2 separate regions of the Homo sapiens genome follow, and region 1 is linked to region 2. The links are contacts of gene promoters, found by promoter capture Hi-C in human tissues and cell types (Jung and others, 2019). All regions are on one chromosome and are shown on one strand. The core of a region is centred on a gene start or on the middle of the fragment in contact, and the rest is flanking DNA. Distances in the headings are between cores, read along the strand shown.

Region 1 (5,185 bases), core at 81-2,580, 87 kb before region 2:
CCTGAGCTTGTCTCACGGCTCCAGCTCTCTAGAGCACAGATCAGAGGACAGCACCATCTATGATCTCCTGAAGGATCCTGTCTCGCTGAGAAGCAAAGCACGCCGGGCCAAGAAAGCCAAGGCCAGCTCGGCGCTGGTGGTCTGTGGAGGGCAGGGCCACCGCCGGGTGCACAGGAAGGCCCGGCAGCCCCACCAGGAAGAGCTGGCGCCGACCGTCATGGTCTGGCAGATCCCTCTGCTGAATATATAAGCAGGACGGCCGCCTTCTGCTGTCAGAATTTGCAATCAAGGGTGACTTCTCAGCTAATCCTACAGCCTGAGTGGTTAAGCTGTGTCTACACTGGTTGGGAATAAATTAAAAACAGTATTTGGGGGAGAAACGTGCAATAGCGTAATGGTGGTGTCCCTGCCAATTCCTTCCTTCTCTTCTGTACAGCAGAAGTAATTACAAGCACTTCTCACGAAGGCAGAAGACTGATGCAATTTTCGAGTAATTGAGTGCAGTTCTGGGAAAATACCACATTCTTTTTGACTGCTGTAGTCCATATGTGAATACTAAATGTTAAACTTCATCAGCGTCAGACCTATTGTATCATATTAGAGAATTTGCAGACTAAGAATTTATGAGAAAATATATGTATTCAGTAGTGCAGGCATTTATTAACAATTCTTAAAAGTTTTACCTGATTCAGATTCACGACTTTTATTTATATTCTATATTTTTGAATTTCAGAGTAAAATTTGTTAACAATTTTAAAAGCCAGGTAACACCTACCAGTCCAGTTAGCATGATTTGCTTTCAGAAGTGAGCTGGGTTTTCCAAAGTGGTATAATGTGTGTACTGTATATTTTAACAAAGTAATATTTTTGTATTGCATTTTTCTATTAAAAAATTAACAGTTAATGTTTCAGTCAATGTATTATCTGTAGCATTTCACAAATAATGTTTGCTTTGAACCAAAATGCTCAGTGCCTATCAACATTTGGACTCAAGCATCAACACCAAATTATTCCTCCCTTCTCGTATAAATAGAGTGACTATCCACAGGAGAAAAGTGTGTGCTTTAGTATTAGAGGAGATAGGCAGAGAAGTCTTGCTTAGTTCCTTCGTGCAGCTTCTTGCCCCTGTTGACGTGGAATGCTGTGTCTGCTTTAGCACGCACGCTCCGAATGACTCCTGGTGCTAGGCCATGCTGGCTGCTGTCACTGAGCGGGACTCAGGCCAAGAGGCGTGACCTCGGGCCAGCCTGTCTGTTGTGCAGACGCCTCCTCTGCAGAACGCATCAGTTTCTATTCTGCAGTTGCAGAGCCAGCCCCGCGTGAGAACGTGCATAATGAGTGCACACCATCATGTCAAGGTGCATACTTAGTGAGCGCCATCCTGCTGAACGTGTATTTCAGTGTTTCACTTACTGGACGGATAACAAGAAAAAAATCCTAACACAGGCAGGCACCAGAAATAAATGTCTCAGCACTTTACAGATGACTAAAAATGTTAATTTTATGACTTAGCCAAATATGTTCTAGGTTGCATATATCCCCCATGTGAAAGTGATTTCTTCCCAAGCTTCTCAAACTGTTAGCTGCTGTCTGACTTCATCAATAAAGTATTTTTATTTTAAAATGCAGTAGGATGAGTTGCCTCTTTTCTGTGTCAAGTGGAAAGGGACATCAACCTCGGGGGGCTGGGTGGGGGGCTTGGCCTGCCCGTTCCTAGCTGCATCACCACTTGCTGCTTTGGGGAGACTCCGTGTCTGAATCCCAGCAACGCACCCAACTGCGTGGAGCACCGCGCTCTGAATTGGAAGTAGGCACTGGGAATCTTTCAAGCAACTCATGTACTTGTTCTTTATTTGTTTGAAGAGACAAAGTCTCCCTCTGTCGCACAGGTTGCAGTGCAGGGGCGTGATCATGGCTCACCATAACCCCCTGGGCTCCCACAGTCACTGCAGTCTCAACCTCCCAGGTTCAAGCAGTTCTCCCACCTCAGTCTCCTGAGTAGCTGGGACTACAGATGCACACAACCACACCTAACTCTTTTTTTCTTTTTAACATTTTGTAGAGATGGGGTCTCGCTATGTTGTCCAGGCTAGTGTCAAACTCCTGACCTCAAGCAGTCCTCGTGTCTGAGCCTCCCAAAGTGCTAAGTTTCCTAGTGTGAGCCAGGAGTTGGTTGGCAGAATTTTGCCACCCTTCAAGCCTCTGATGGCGGCTCTGATCTCTGCGATTCTTCCAGGAAGGCAGGATGGATTTACTAATTTGGTAGAAAAGGGGAGGGGGGTTCAGAGGCTTCCAATTGATGTTCCTAATTCAGTGGTTCTGACTTCACAGTCATGCCCAGCCTACACTTGGCCATTCCATTTTGAGTTATGAGTAGAATGAGTTTCCTGTAAAATGTTCCTATTGTGGGTGTTTTACCAGACCAGGGCCAACACCTTACATGGAGAGATGAAATGGATGTGTAAAGTTAACTTGCTGGGACAGAAATCTTTCCACACGATTGATGGTGCGGGACATGGACAGAGTGGGGTCTGTGTAACTGACTCCTTAACTCCCTCTGCCCTCCTAGAGAAGAGAGACTTCCAGAGATCCTGAGAGAGGCAGACGCGGGAGGGCTTTGAGGGAGGAAGAGGTTGGAGAACGTGGGCTACAAAGAACTCCCGCTATGCCAGGACGCGGGTTCTGCTTTCACAGTGAATGAGGAAAACAAGCATATCACCAACAAATGAAGCCGTGCAGACAGGCAAGTGCGTTCTCTAAGCAACAAGCTTCTACTGAGCACCTGATGAGTGTCAGAGGTGAGGCCAAGCTCTGTCTTAGGCCCTGAGGATGGGACAAGAGAGAAAAAGCCTCCCTTTGGGGTTGCCACTGCTGGTTTATTCCCCCTCTCCTCTGCAGAGCCCTGGGCTCTTCCTGGACAGGGATTAACCCAGTGACAGCAGGACACTTGGGAGCCCAGGGCCAAATGGCTGCGTCTCCCCCAGCTTCCGGGCCCCCATCTGCTGGGTAGACCCTCGGTAACTTGATCAACAAGGAGCCTGGCTGGCATCACGATCTCACCTCCTGATGGGGCCCCTGTCCTCTGGGGCGTGGCCAGGCTTGGTGTTTCATCACAGCAGCCCGAACGGAGACAGGAAGGCACCAAGAGGCATTGCTCAGCAATGAACAAAAACCTGCAGGTCATGGTCCAAGTCCCACACCTGAGTCAGCTCACAGGCTCGGAGCTCACTGACTGAAGGGGGAGTCAGGTTCACCTGAGGAAGGACCCCACACGTAGGCTGCAGGTCCCTTTGGTCGATGCTTCCCCAAAGGGACCTGCATGCGTGTGCTGGGAAGACTGCAGTGGTAACGGGAAAGAGCAGACCTTGGAAACTGTCCAGGCTCTGAGTCGCCGCTGAGCAGACAAGCAGAGCGGCACCTTGGGCTGTAGAGGGGTCTTATGAAAGCCACATGGCGCGTAGAGTTAGGCCCATGTCCGTCTCACAAGGGCCTATGGGTCTCCAGGTGTATAATTGGGATGGACAGAGCTGGCAGCTGGCAGAAACCATCACTGGTTCCTTAACCTGTGAAGTCAGAGCCACTGAATTAGGGACCATCAGTTGGAAGGCTCTGAACACCCCTCCCCATTCCTACCAAATTAGTAAATCCATCCTGCCTTCCTGGAGGAATCGCAGAGATCAGAGCCACTGTCAGAGGCTCAAAGGATGGTGAAATTCCAGTGCCCGCCAATTCCCATGTAATTCATGGAACTGGGCACTGCAGACACCAGGCTGTGATGGAAGGTGGCGGTGGGGTCCTGCAGCGTGACCAGGTAGTCTCTCCAGTCACAGCCGCTGTGACAAATAGCGTCTTTACCAGAACAGATCAGCACAGCTGCCGATTCAGCAACTGCACTCTTCTCCACACCCTATCCATGGAGAGAAGACAGTTTGTGTTGACTTGGCGAGGACTGCAGTACACTTACTGCCTTGCCCACTGTGCTGTCAACACTGGCTTTACTATAAGGCCACAGGGTCACTACTGTGTCGATGATCTCATGCTGCCTGGACCTGGGAGAACCCAGGTGACCTAGGAATGCAGGTACCTGCCTCAGGCTGGGAGATATCGGAGGCCTGCCACATCATTGAAGCTTCTGGGGTTTCAGCATCTGAGCATGCCCTGATACACCCTATGAGGTAAAGGGCAAACCATACCCCACGCTCCATGCCATTCTGGGGAGCAGTGACTGGGGGACCTCTGGAGTTTGGACCCAGCATGCACTACACATGGGAAGACTGCTCCAACTCATTTCTGGGGAGCCTCTAAGGCTGGCGGTTTTGAATGGGGCCAAGAGCGGGGAAAAGCCTGCTGAGCCACTTCTGCAGCACAGACGCCTTGCCCGGCCTCATGGTGATGCAGATATGACTATGCTGAGACGTTGCTGTAACAGCACGGCCCACAGAGCTGCGGAGCCAGGCTCTCAGTTATCTCCCGTTTGAAAAATGGAGCTTGGGTGGTACTAGGCCCAGTCAAAATTGGGCGCCAGGATCCCTGCAGAGGCCACTGTCTCTGCGCGGGCTGCAGAACAAACCACCATAGACTGGGCAGCCTCACCACGTTGATTTCTCCCTGTGCTGGAGGCTAAGTCAGATCCGGGTGCCGGCACGGTTGGGTCGTCGGGAGGGCTCCTTCCTGGCCTGCAGCCAGCCACCTTCTCACCATGTCCTCCCATCGGGGAGAGGAAGCAAGTTCTCTTACAAAGACACGATCCCATCGTGAGGGCCCCACGCTGGTGACCTCATCCCCTCCCAGAGGCCATCACACTGGGAATTAGGGCCTTGGCATATTAATTTGGGGGGATATGAACCTGCAGCCCAGAACAGATGCCGACTCAGCTAAGCAGCCCGTGGAATGCTGTCATGAGATGGGTGAGTTGCAGGCTGGGGTGGACACGATACCTTAGGGACAGCACCGAGCAGGTTCAGAAAGTGAAGTAAAATGCAGGAAGCAGGTGGCTCTGACCGTGTCCATCGCACTGCCCCACCCACACCCAGCCACATGCAGCAGCCGGCCCCTGGGGGAGCATGGGGACGCTCCTGTCCTTGCTACATGAACTGTGGCCCTGGCTGTCTCGTCCTATGCGAGGAAGGCCCAGTGGGAAGCTGTGGAGGACACGCCTCTGCACACAACGGCTGCACACAGGGCA
Region 2 (5,010 bases), core at 428-2,927:
ACCATCACTGCCCCTCCAGTGTCGGCCACACTCAGAGGCAGGGGGGCAGAAGGGCTGAAGGGAAGTCCCCCAGGTCCCTGAGAAATGGATTCGCTAGAGAAGGAGATGCTGATAAACCGGAAGTAAACATTGCTTGCTCTGGTCTTGCTGTTTGCAACCCCCCCAAAATATGTGGGTTAAAACCCTAACCCCCAAAACGATGGTGTGAGGAGGTGGGGCCTTAGGGAAGTGACAAGGTCATGGAGGTGGAACCTCCCGAGTGGGATCAGTATCCTCATACAGAGGCCCCAAGAGCGGCCTGGCCCCTTGACTTGGTGAGGACTCAGGGACCGCGCCGTCCCAGAACCAGAAGGCTCTCCCCAGGCAGTGTCTGCTGGTACCTGGATCTTGGACTTCCAGTCCCCAGAACTGTGGGAAAGAAGCTCCTGTGTTTTATAAGCTACACGGTCTATGGTGTTTTGCTAAAGCAGCCTGAATAGACTAAGAAATCACTCAACAAACACTAATTAAATTAAATGCTAGGCCATCAGAATACGAAGGGGAAGAAGACAGAAACACTCGCCTCCTGATCCAGCATCCAGAACGCTCTGGGGCCCAGCAAGAGGCTGTGCTCGCGTCTTTCTCGTATCTGATCTTCGCCTCCATCCACCTGCTCGCTGGTCCTTGGCTGTGCCTCTGATACCCCAGTGTGAGAACGTGGAGTTTCTTAAGGCAATTCTCTTATCATATTTTCTCTACTTGTCACAACAAACTTACAGGAAAGTTGTTATTCCATGCGTTTTAGAGCTGGGGAGCATAGCCCCCGTGGGCTGAGCAGCTGGCCGAAGTCCTCAGCCCCTGTGGTGAGGTGCAGCTGGAGTGTGATTCTCCGGGTCCTCAGATGGGGGCATCCCCTTGAGGCCCCGCCTCTTGGCCAGGCTGCAGCCCAGGACCGTGCCAGGTGTGTGTTATCTATATTTGGACACACGCTGTGCGAAACGACGGGCACCCTGCAATTATCCGTGTGGTGTAGACGCAGTGTACGTCTGTGGTAATGGCTATAAATAAGCCCCGACTTGCCGACTAGGCACCGCTCCTCTTTTGGGTAGGCAGTTCTTGCTAAAATAGCCCTAAGATACAATCGAGTGAAGACCTGAGTCGTTCTTGAAATAAAAAAAAAAAAACGAACAAACACACGAACATGCACACACACGCTCACAAACCCAGGGGCTTGTGCACCTCCCTCCCTCCACAGCCGACCTCAACTCGGGTGTCCAGGCCTGCGAATGGCACAAATGCTCACTGAAATCCATGTCATTATTAAAGACTCATTCAGGAGTTGCAATTTGTGAGCCAGGGAACCTGTAGCTCGAAAGGATTGAAGATATGTCTGAGAATTCACACGTAAGGATTAGAACTCATGGAGGAGAGTTGCGGGGAGGGAGCGTGGGAAGTCAGTGCCCTGCCCTCTCTTTCTGGGTCGGGGGCTGAAGTGTCACACCCGGTTTCCTGGGAAAAGTGCAGTTTGGGACTCAGAAAGGACACGTTCCAGTTTTGAATCGTGATTTCCCCCGCCCTCAGTTTGAACAAGAAGCTTTTCCTCCTGAGGTCAGGCTGGTGATTTACGATGTGGGTATTGATGTGGGGAGAGGCAGGCCCAGGCGTCTATATATAGTAGCTCCTCAGACCTTAAACGGGAGGGAGGCACAGGCGCTTGCTTTGCAGGAGTCAGCTCTGCCTTCCTCGGCTGGAGTGTGGGTGGCTTGGTGAGCCGGTGGTCAGGAATTCTCTCTCCTCCTTGCAATTTTCCTTTCTGTCTGGGTAAGTGTCTTTCTCTTCTTGCCTTTTCTAATTTGTGGCTTTAAGGGGAGGACCGGTAACTTCTGCACTCACATTTTCTAAGTACCTCTACTTCAGGGTCAAGAAGAGAGAGCCAGTGCACCCCGTCGCAGGCACCCTTTACTGTGGAAAACAGAGCAATTAGTTCTGGGATCTGTATTTCTTTGACGAGGTTTTATGCTCAACTAACATTTTATTTCCCACAGCCGTGGTCTTTGCTAAGTGCCGTTTAGCACCCTGCGGCGTGTGCTTTGGGTTTTAGCCCTGGTCTCATCGTGGCCCCAGGGGGCCCCCCAGTCAGTGGACTGATGTCTGCAAGTTTCATGAGATTCTCAGAAACGAAAGCCTCCCCCGAGGAGAGGGCTGACTTATAAAGGTGTGAAATAATAAAACTGGATATTTTCTTAAGGGAAAAAAGAGTCGAGGGTCATTCAGCTTAGACCTAGCCTATATTATCCACGGTATGGGAAAGAGAACAATCCTTGTCAGGACTTGCAAGTTTTTGCCCAAAAATGACAGCGTTCTTACGGCTGTTTTCTTCTTTGTGCTGTTGGGTGTGTTGTGACCCTTCAGACTTCTTCAGCTCCACTCCGCTGATAGAGGCTGTGCCTTCTCAGGGCGTGCTCTTGAAATGCAACCTGCTGGAGAAAGACAGTGGGGCTGGGTGGTTGCACGTGGAAGGCACCGGAGGCAAACGGAAGGAAGGGGTTTGCCATCACTGGGAACACCTGGCCTTTTCTAATTCTCCATTTCACATTCCTTTCTTACTAAGTAGAAGTAAAACAGGACTCAAAGAAAGCGTGGAACAAAGATAATTTAAGGCGTTATTTAATAAACCAAGTCCCAAGCTAAAACTTGTCTTGGGAGCCAAGGGCTTAGCCACTTGTGGCACAGGCCAACGCTGCGTGTCTGGGAGTCCCTTTCCCCTCTAGAAAGCTTTAATTTGGTGTATTTATTGACTTTGACATTTTTAACTGTACAAACAATTTCCTTCATTAAGTGGAAGTCAATGTTTTGTACTTCAAACATTTTTGCAAATTAAAACCCATCCTGGTGACATGAGGAATGGGCTCCACACGTTGTTTGCAGGAAGGAATTAGGATGGGGATATCAGACACGTGGTCCCCTGCACTGGAGGAGAGGCTCGCGTTTCATCCTGGTGTCATGATTCCTAAACGTGTCAGGAGCATTCCGGGAGTGGCCGGGGAGCTGGGCTGTGGTGGAAAGTGGGCTGGACGCTGTCAGGAGAGTCAGCTGGCGCCTGGGTTCGGCCGTGGCCCTACCGGTGACCCGGGCAAGTCATATTTCCCTGGGGACGGTCTGTGCTAACAGTACAGCGTGGCGCCAGGATTATCTACACACAGGCTGTCCAAGCTGGGGGACTGTTAGCTGCCACCTCACTCAGCCCCCTGTTTTACAGCAGAGCAGGTGGAGGCCCCTGAGCTGAAGGTCAGCAGGTCCCCACTGGAGTCTCAGCCTCCCAATGCGCCTGAGCCCCAGGGACTCACATCAAAAACTACCCTGCGAGGAAAAGCTGCTTTCTTTCTCTCTCTCTTTCTTTTTTCTTTTTTTTTTTTTTGGTTGGTGTGTGTAGGGGGTATTTAACACATGTCTGAGATAGTTCCTTAAAAAGGAAAACAGCTTTCTATGTAGACAGTAGAGGGACATTGGGGAGCTGATCGGCCCAGGTCCTGTCATTTTCTTTATAGTGTCATAAATAGTACAGGTTGATCATTCCAAATCTGAAGATCAGAAATCCAGAATGCTCTAAATTCTGAAACTTTGTGAGCGCTGGTATGACTCTCAAAGGAAATGCTTACATGAGCATCTCAAGTATCCAATTTCTGGATTTGAGTTGCTCAACCAGTAAGTATAAATGCAAGTATTCCACAGTCTGAAAAACAAATCGGGAATTGGAAACTCTTCTGGTCCAAGCATTTTGGATAAGGGATGCTCCACCTGTAGGGTGCATTTGGCAAGTCCTCTCCAGGGTTCCCTCCACTCAGAAGGGCCCTGTGCTGCCAGGGCTGCAGGCACCCAGCACGTGCTGAGTCAGTGGGGATTTGCTTGCAAAGACGTCATCACACCCGGCCAGGAGGTGGTGGCCCAGGCTGGGTGAGGGACACTGGGGAAGTTCTAACATAGGAAGTCCCCCAAGGAGTGAAGAGATTGCGGAGGGGACACACATTCAGGGTGGGTGAGGCTGGACGTGCAGTCCTGCTGGTTTTCTGGGTTGGGCATGTGATTGATAAAAGTGGAGTTGAGGGCACATTGGCACTGGGAGTCAAATGCGCAGAAGACTTGAGCTTGCTACTCTCCCGAGCCAGGAGCTCTAAGGTGTTTTCATTGTTGAAATCCAAGGGTTCTGATTTAGGCTTGGCTGGCACGTTGCAAGTGACCCCATACTTGTGGAATCAACTGAGGCTGATGGATTCTGCAAAGCCTCTGACACCTCCTGATTTTGGTGGTCCTGAGCATGAAGTGAGCAGGGAATACATGTGGGGATAAACGTGGCAAAGTGCCCTGTTACCCCCATCCAAAGACTTCCCGGGGAGACTTCCACAGTAAGGTACCATTGGAGTGAGGATTGCAGGAAGTGTGCACACGTGATCCCAGCTCTGCCTTGCTAAGCACTACAAAGTGTAGCCCCTCACACATGAAGTGTTTGAAGACTTCCAGGCCCACAGGACCGGATGTCACGTCAGTGATACATAGGTTGCATTGGACAGGACGTTACAGACTGGTTGAAGGATAGCTAGTCTGTGAGCTCTCAAGACCTGAGCCGTTTCACATTCTTCCAGGTCTTAGGTCTAAGGAGGAGGATTTCCATCCAGGGCGATTCTCCTCTTATTTCAATGTAGCTCATTCTCTCCTTTGACCTAATAGGTCACATTTTGACTCTTCCCTTTACCAAGAAATACAAACACATCTGAGGTTTAACTCAACATAAGTGTAAGTAGATACTGTGATGACACATGAGCCCCTGCTGCAATAGCAGGTACTGGGGATTGCTCATGCGTCTGCTGGAGTGGAATTGCCTGGTATTCGTCAGGCTGATCCCAGAAGAACCTTGGATAGGAAACCGGATGGAAGCTGAAACGTCTTCCCCAACCTTGGTCCAACTTCATTTCAGTGAGCTCTTCCCAGCACCCTGCTGGTGAACTCCAGAGAGAGTAAATGGGTTTCTGAGCA

The links. The method cuts DNA at HindIII sites, captures the fragments that hold promoters and counts their contacts. A contact is called where the count stands out against the background at its distance.
Region 1: a fragment that was not itself captured here is called in contact with the fragment with the promoter of MYOM2 in region 2 in 2 of the 25 tissues and cell types used here (heart left ventricle and mesendoderm cells).

Annotation. Positions count from the first base shown.
Region 1 is chr8:1,957,014-1,962,198 of GRCh38, forward strand. ARHGEF10 (Rho guanine nucleotide exchange factor 10) reads left to right here. Exons shown (of 29, transcript NM_014629.4): 29 at 1-1,628. The coding sequence ends at 250. Among named protein-coding and RNA genes, the nearest start is that of KBTBD11-OT1, 12 kb to the right of the region's middle. The HindIII fragment of the contact is 4,235 bases long and covers 1-3,448 here.
Region 2 is chr8:2,043,369-2,048,378 of GRCh38, forward strand. MYOM2 (myomesin 2) reads left to right here and starts at 1,678. Exons shown (of 37, transcript NM_003970.4): 1 at 1,678-1,800. The HindIII fragment of the contact is 6,844 bases long and covers 1-5,010 here.